2 separate regions of the Homo sapiens genome follow, and region 2 is linked to region 1. Evidence: promoter capture Hi-C in 16 types of primary human blood cells and fetal thymus (Javierre and others, 2016). All regions are on one chromosome and are shown on one strand. Each heading gives the region's core, a stretch centred on a gene start or on the middle of the fragment in contact. The rest is flanking DNA. Distances are from core to core; before and after follow the strand shown. Region 1 holds the start of TMED4 (transmembrane p24 trafficking protein 4). Region 2 has its middle 21 kb from the start of TBRG4.

Evidence for each region. Contacts are between HindIII fragments. The CHiCAGO score rates a contact against its expected background, and 5 or more counts as called.
Region 2: a contact is called between a fragment that was not itself captured here and the fragment with the promoter of TMED4 in region 1, in 1 of 17 cell types (naive CD4 T cells). The highest score is 5.4, in naive CD4 T cells.

What each region holds. Positions count from the first base shown.
Region 1 is chr7:44,579,879-44,583,937 of GRCh38, forward strand. TMED4 (transmembrane p24 trafficking protein 4) reads right to left here and starts at 2,353. Exons shown (of 5, transcript NM_182547.4): 1 at 2,169-2,353; 2 at 1,845-1,945; 3 at 1,571-1,696; 4 at 1,215-1,361. The coding sequence starts at 2,328. RefSeq lists silencers at 1,977-2,076, 2,477-2,636 and an enhancer at 2,727-2,836. The HindIII fragment of the contact is 9,471 bases long and covers 1-4,059 here.
Region 2 is chr7:45,130,588-45,134,757 of GRCh38, forward strand. No RefSeq gene overlaps it. Among named protein-coding and RNA genes, the nearest start is that of TBRG4, 21 kb to the left of the region's middle. RefSeq lists an enhancer at 3,234-3,734. The HindIII fragment of the contact is 5,554 bases long and covers 1-4,170 here.

The DNA of each region.
Region 1 (4,059 bases), core at 1,103-3,602:
GTAGGCAATGGCTATTACTAGATTGTGAACTGTCCTTTCTTCATTTTATTTTATAGAGCTTAAAAATGACTACTGAAAGCGAAATGTGGCACATGCATACAATGGAATATTAGCCTTAAGAAATTCTGACACATGCTATAACATGGATGAACTGTGAGAACATTATACTCAGTGAAATAAGCCAGTCACAAAAGGACAAATACTGAATGATTCCACTTATATGAGATAGGGTAGTCAGGATCATAGAGACAGAAAGTAGAATGGTGGGTGTCAGGACAAAAGGAAACGGGAAGTTATTGTTTATAATAAGTACAGATTTGCTGGGTGCAGTGGCTCACGCCTGTAATCCCAACACTTTGGGAGGCTGCGGCAGTGGATTGCCTGAGGCCAGGAGTTCAAGACCAGCCTGGCCAACATGGTGAAACCCAGTCTCTACTAAAAACACAAAAATGAGCCACGCATGGTGGCACTTGCCTGTAATCCCAGCTACTTGGGAGGCTGAGGCAGGAGAATCGCTTGAACCTGGGAGGCGGAGGGTGCAGTGAGCCGAGATGGCGCCACTGCGCTCCAGCCTGGGCAACAGAGCGAGACTCCATCTCAAAAACAAAACAAAATAAGTACAGATTTTTAGTTTGAGAAGATGAAAAAGTTCTGGAGCTGGATGATGGTGTTGGTAGCACAACATTATGAAGGCACTTAATACCACTGAACTATATAGACAGTTAAAATGACACATTTGGTGTTATATTTTACCACAATAAAATGTTTTGATAAAAAAGCAAAACAGGCAGGGCGCGGTAGCTCACACCTGTAATCCCAGCACTTTGGGAGGCTGAGGCGGGCGGATCACTTGATGTCGGGAGTTCGAGACCAGCCTGACCAACGTGGAGAAACCCCCGTCTCTACTAAAAGTACAAAATTAGCCAGGCATGGTGGCGCATGCCTGTAATCCCAGCTACTCAGGAGGCTGAGGCAGGAGAATCGCTTGAACCTGGGGAGGCGGAGGTTGCAGTGAGCCAAGATCATGGCATTGCACTCCAGCATGGGCAACAAGAGTGAAACTCCGTCTCAAAAACAACAAACAAACAACCTATCTAAACCAATACTTCTCATTCCATTCTCTGCAGAGCTGATCTCCCAAGCAGAAACTTGAGTAGGTATAGTGGGTATAAAGGTCAACTGCCCTCTCAAATTACAAGGAGATATGCACTTGCCCTTTGGTAATCCTGCTCCTTCTGAATCTGTTCCACCTGATCAAGCAACTGGCGGGCGCGGAGCTGTAGCTCCGTCAGCTTATCTTTTGCAGCAATCTCAGGGTAGTTGTTGGCATGCTCCCCAACCTGGATGTCGAGATGCACCCGCTACAAGGAAACATGGAATGTATGAGTGGTGGGGCCTCCAGTTGTCTGTTCCAGGGTATGGAACCCACTATTGTCCCTGGCTGTGGAGCAGAAGGCAACATCTGTCTCCCCAATTCTGACTGTGCTACAAAGTTTCACAATCTTGATAAATCAAAATTTGGAAACAAGTGAGAGATTCTAAGCTGAAGCCAAAGAGAAAATCCTCTTACCAGTTTGCCACCAGCGAAGAGAGCCATCCTGGTAGAATTGGAGTGCAGACAGATTTGATGGTCACCGGGCGTGTGGGAGGTGAACGTGAAGCGGCCCTCCGAGCCGTACTGCCGGGACAGCACCACCTGCAACATATGTGAGTGAAGGCCCCACCTTTATACCGCAGGCTCTCCAAGTGCAAGTTCCTGTCCCTTGAGGCCTCCTCCAGGCAGTGCTTTACACCCCACGGGAGCTCCACTGAAGAACGGCTGCGTGGGCCAACGCCAGCCTTACCTTGCCGTCGGGGTCCTTCACTTCCACGTGCATGCCCAGGCCAGGGGTCGAGGGCAGGAAGACCTCCTTCTGCTTATCCCACATCTGGGTACGATAGTTGCCTGCGGGGCAGACACATAGTCACGACCGGCCCTAGTGGGCCGCCTCTCCGCCCGGCCCCCTCCGACGTGCGGCCCGGAGCTCTAGGCAGGGGGCCTGGCGTCCTCGGGGCACCCTCAGGCTAGGTACTGGGGGAGCCAGCGACCCGGCTGGGCTCGGGAGGAGGGAGCGCCGCCGAGGGCTGAGCTGGGTACAAAGGGCCTCCCCACCCTCAGCCCGCCTGACCGATGACCATGGTCTCGTCGGGGATTTCCTCGATGAAACAGCGCTTCTCGGTCTCGCCGATGTGGAAGTAGAGCCCCTGGGCGCCTGTGGCGCACAGCGCGAGAAGCAGCAGGGCCTGCCGCCCCATCGCCCGCAGAGGCCCAGCCCCGACACCTGCCATCGCGCCTCAGCCCCTAAGCGCCTGCGCACATTTGCGCATCGCTCTGCGCCTGCGCGCCACCCTAGCGACCCTGAGAGTTAGGGGAAGAGGACGCCTGCGCAGTGATATGTACTCGCCGTCTCCTGCAACTCCATCCGTACCGAACACTGCCGCGCCCCGCCCCCTCACACAGCCCGGCGCCCGCCTACCCCCGCAACGAGAGTAGAGGGCGCATGCGCAATGACGTTCGCCCTTAATTTCTCGCCCCTTACCCCGCAGCTTACCTCCGGCATCTCGCAGGGGAGGCACGCCTGCGCAGTCACGCCCGCCCTCGGCCCCAGTCAGCGATTTGGGTCTCGGAGCACCAAGGAGACGGTGGACGGAATCTGACCAGGCTTGGTGGCTACGATGGCCTGAAGCGTGCCTTTTGGGTTCTCAGCTCGGGCTCACAAGTGTTTTCTGTGCTAAATACAAAAAGCCCTGTGATGTTTTGCTTTGCGTGTCCACCTATCTGACTCGTAAGAACCGAGGCTGAATCCAGACCCACACTCTGTCACGTCGGGAGAGCCTGCCGCGGCGAGCCTCTGCGAGCGGGCATTTCTTGGGTGGGGACCAAAAGCCCAGTGCTGCCATAGTTTCGGATCATTCTTTTAAGAAGCTGGGGCCGGGCGCGGTGGCTGGCACCTGTAATCCCAGCACTCTGGGAGGCTGAGGCGGGCGGATCCCTTGAGCCCAGGAGTTCGGGACCAGCCTGGGCAACATGGTGAAACCCCCGTCTCTACAAAAAATTAACCGGTGTGGTGGTGTGCGCATGTAGTCCCAGCTACTTGGGAGGCTGAGGCAGGAGAATCGCTTGAACCCAGGAGGTCGAGGATGCATTAAGCAGTGATCGCGCTCCAGCCTGGGCGACCGAGGGTGATACCTTGTCTTAAAAAAAAGGTGGGAGAGTGGAACGAAAACTTGGAATAAGTAGGGTCATGGAGCTTGTTTACATCCCCTAGTTACAGCACATCCTTTTGAAAGTGAAAAACAAACTGGAATGTTACTTAGTGGGCATGGAATCGAAGCAACGGAAGGTTAAAACTGTTTTTATCAAGGCCAGGCGGGCGCGGTGGCTCACGCCTGTAATGCTAACACTTTGGGCGGCCAAGGCTGGTGGATCATCTGAGGTTAGAAATTCGAGACCAGTTGGGCCAACAAGGTGAAACCCCCGTCTCTACTAAAAATACATTTTATCAACAGAATTTCGAAACTTTTATATAATAGAATAATTACAATGAACTTTCATAAAGAACTTGAGCATACCTGGATTTTGGTATCCGTAGGGGTCCAGGAATTATCCCCCTTGGATAATAACGGAGGGCTGTACTCATCATCCAACTTCAACAACAGTTTGCTGCCTTTCTCATTTCATGTATCCCTTTCTGCATTTTTTTTTGAAGTGCTGTATATTAAAGCAAATCCTGGACATCATGTCATTTCACCTATAAATACGTCAGTGTGTGTCTCTAACAGATAAGGACTTTATACTATTATCACACCCACCAAAATTTTAAAAATTATTTAACATCACTTAATACCTAGTATGTGTTTAATTTTCCCCATTGCCTTAAAAAATTTTGTACATTAGATATTTAGGGTCCAAACAAGGTTTACTTACTGCATTTCATACAAATATATGTCTCTTAATATATAACAATTTTGGCTGGGCACAGTGGCTCATGCCTGTAATCCCAGCACTTTGGGAGGCTG
Region 2 (4,170 bases), core at 747-3,246, 550 kb after region 1:
CACAGGCATGCAAGGATGACAACACACACGGTGCAGGGCAGGGGGCAGTGGCGTTCCCACTTGGCCCTGACCCCCGTTCTCATTTTTGGAGGCTGATTTCCTACTCTCTTCAGAGATGATCAAGCCTGTTCAAGTATGGATGTGCAGGTCCGTTCTCCTTAGAAATGCGACTTATGTGCACACTGTCTCCCCCTCCTTTTTTTTTTTTTTTTTCCATTTGGGGAACATCCATTTAGCTCAGCCAAACTGAGCTAGTTCTGTGAGCTCAGTTTGGCTGGGTTTTAATGACACACGCCTGCTTCTGAGTGGCGGCTTAGTCCCCTCGGTATGGATGTGTCCACATAATTGCTAGTCTCCTATTGATGGACATTTAGGTTGTTTCTGATTCTTTGCTACCACAGAAGACCCCAGCTTTCGGCATGTGGGCAGGGAGCTCTGCAGGGTACCAGTGTAGAGGCGGAGATGCTGGGCCAAAGGGTCCATGTTTCGCCCACATGGGAGGCCCCGCCCAAGTGTCCTCCAAGCATCTGGCCCGATTCCCAGTCCCTGCTGGCACACCTGGGTATGCAGGGCTGGTCCCCGACACCTCATGAGCAGACACGCTCATCCTGCCCACTGGGTAGATAGGTCGATGGGTGATGGTGGAGGCTTTTATTTTTACTTTTTATTATGATAATTTTAAACATACAGCAAAGTAAAAATAATAGTTCAATAGGTACTCACAGACCGATGGTCTAGATTAACCTTGTCAACATTTTGTCGGACTCATGTTACTATTGTTTGTGTTGTTGTTGGAATTTAAATCTGAAACATCGTGTTGTTTCAACCCCAACTACTTTCTTTTTTTTTTGAGACAGAGTCTCACTGTCACCCGGTTTGGAGTGCAGTGGTGCAATCTCAGATCACTGCAACCTCTGCCTCCTGGGTTCAAGCAATTCTCCCTGCCTCAGACTCCCGAGTAGCTGGGATTACAGGCTCCCACCACCACACCCGGCTAATTTTTGTATTTTTTAGTACAGACGGGGTTTTGCCATGTTGGCCAGGCTGGTCTTGAACTCCTGACCTCAGGTGGTCCACTCGCCTCAGCCTCCCAAAGTGCTGGGATTACAGGCATGAGCCACCACGCCTGGCCAATCCCCTACTACTTTCATATGAAGTTGGAAATCCCAGGGCTGTTTTCCTACAGATAAAATTATTCTACGCGTAAAGTAACTGCTAGTTCCATGAGCTCAGGTTGGCTGGGTCTTTCCTTCTCAGTGGTGTCCAGCCTCTGCAGTCCTCCTTCAAACTGCCCCTGCACCCCAGCTCCCCCAGCCTCCCTCCTGTTTCTTGTCCCTCTATAGTCCTCACTCCTCAGGGAATGTCTATGGCACTGCCACTATCCCCTTTCTCTGCTCTCCCCTCCCCTCATCCTGTGGGAAGCATCCGCCCACGCTCCCTGAGCCCCTGCCCTAGCCCCCACCCCTGCATCCCTGGCAGCAGCTCCCAGGCACAACCAGGGCCCTGCCTGGTCCGGAGCACGCCCATCTGTTCAGCCTTCAGAGGCCTTGGACCCACATCTGCCCACTGTTGCCAATGCAGAACTTGGCCTCCTCCCACATCTCCTTTCCCTGGGAATGGTTCCTCACAGCCAGAGACTTGGAGGGCCTCCCTTTTGTGTTTCTCCATCTAATCAGTTACCAAGAGGTTGGGCCACTGGTGGATGCCCCTCCAAAACCCTCTTGAGTGTGTTCCTGTCAGCTCTTCTGGGCTGCTGCCCTGGGATGGGCTGTTGTGGCATCGGCCACTGCAACAACCGCCTTAACACACTTGTCTGACTACAGACGATCTGATTTGTTCATGAGATGTCCTGTATACTGTCCTCCAGAGCACAGGACCTCTCTCATCTTGTTGAACAGCACATTTGCAGCATCTGGGGCATTAGCCTTTAATGGGAAGGAAGGGAGGGAAAAAAGGAGGAAGGGAGGGAGGAAGGAGGAGAGGGAGGGAGGGAGGGAAGGAGAGAGGGGAGGAGGGAGGGAGGAGGTGGGAGAGGGAGGGAAGGAGGCAGGGATGGAGGGAGGGAAGACTATATCAGGCCTCCCCACTTTCCAGTTAGTTGTCAATGCTCTGTCCAGCATGGCCTTTCACGCCTGGGCATGATCCTATCACAACCCCATCTGAAACTCTTCGGCGGTTTCCCATTACCTGGGGGGAGAAGTCCAAATGCTGGGGTGTGGCATTCATGCCCTTCATGACCTTGAATGAAGTGGCCTAGAGGAAGCGTTTGAGTGCATGCCTGTGTGAATCTAGTCTTGGCTGTGCTAGTTGTGTGACCTTGAGCAGCTTACTCCTTCCTCATTTGTAAAATGGGGTAATAATGAGACCTATTCCAACTACCAGAGGGAGCTGGGGCCCGGGGGGCCAGGAGGGAACACATGTTCTGTGTGGCTGGTGGGGGGCAGTGGGGAGGAGTGAGAGGTGTTGGCAGGACAAGGAGTTCGGGTTAGGTGCACAGCTGCCCTTAGAGCCCTCAGGGCCAAATGGAGAAGCCAGAGGGTTCCAGGAATGCCATTCCTCCAGGCTCACCAGCCCCAGAGGCAAGGAATGTAGGGTTCTTCTTGCGCCCAGGGGAAGGTTGTTGGCCCCTGGCTTGCCTGGCTCCAGCCTATCATCTTCTAAGATGCACAGGCTCTTTCACTCCCCAGCAGCTCCTGTGTGCCCAGGATTGATGGGGAAATGAGGCCCCGGGTTGTGGTCATCTGGAGCACACTGTCCCCACTCCTGGTCCTATGGGGTCAGCTGGGTCAGGATTTTCTCCAAAACTCTGAGTAAAGACAGGGATGGAGGAGGCCATGCTATTCCACAGGTGTGTCCTGGTCTTGTGGTGACTGCCACAGGCCCTGGGTACATGACCTGCCTTCAGCCCTTGCAATCAGGGTCACGGCCTCTGATCACGTGAAGGTCTCATGCTTGTCATCAGGGTCACAACCCTGGTGCAGGTCCTCAGCCCTTGTCATCAGAGTCAGGACTCCTGGGTGAATGTCCTGTCCTTGTCATTGGGGTCATGACCCTTCGGTGAAGGTCTCACTCTCATTATAGGGGTCCCGACCCTGGGTGCAGGTCCTGCCCTCAGCCCTCTGCCCTCATCATGGTCTGTCTGCTCTGACACCCTTCCTACATCTCCTGTCTCACCAAGTCATGTCCCTGCATACAGTTGCTACACCTCCTGCCTCTAGCTCCTGCTTAGAAAGTTCTCTCCTCCCATCTTTCAAAGCTCTACTGCCACCTCCTACTCCAGGGCTGCAAGGCTGTGAGGCTGCAGTGGGCCCTCTGCCCCTTCTCTTGTACCTAGCAGAACCGTGGGCCTCATGGGCCTGTGGTCATTGGCAGGTGGGTTGGATGTCCCACTGGCTCTGTTTCTGCCCTGGACCACAGCAGGTAGAGCAGGGCTGCAGAGGATGCTGGGCGCAGCCCTGGTGGCTAAGGCCTCATGGTGTCATCTCTGTCCAGCTTGTTCACTTGTGGTCCATTTGCTAACACTTGTGTGTGGCCAGGGGCACAGGCACATGAAATGCAGACCCCAGGTGCATACCCACAGAGGCTCCTCCCCAGCTGCGAGGCTTCTGACAGGGAGTCGCCCCCGAGCTTTCAGAAGAGTCCAGCGCTACACAAGGACGCAAGGAGCATGGATGGTCCTAGGCTGAGATATCATGCAGCCTGGCAGGTGCAGAGAAACAGGGTCTTTTTGGGGAGTCATTTTCTCCAACACTGAGGTGGGAGAGGGCTGGGGAGGCTGGCAGGGCTGGACCATGGAGAGCCATGGGGGCCAGGCCAGGGGTCAGGGTGGCAAGGCAGGATCAGACACGTTTTAGAAAGGCCCTTTGCCAGTTGACAGGGAGGTGGGAGGAGAGGAGAAGGGGAGCCTGGACAAAGGTAGGCACTGGGCCTGGGAGGAAGGTATGTGGGACCGGGGCCTGGGTCTCCTGGGCTGAGAAGGGAAAGTCCAGCAGGGGTGGGGTTGTAGAAGGGAGGGCAGCAGGCCTGGCCTCTACATCTCCATAAACTCTTGATTTCCAGCTGATGCCCCTACTCTGCAGAAACACTGACCCTGGGGAGATTCTGAGGCTCAGGTCAATGCCTTGGGTAGAGAATGAGGAGGTAATGAGCCCTGAATGGAGTGGCTTTTCA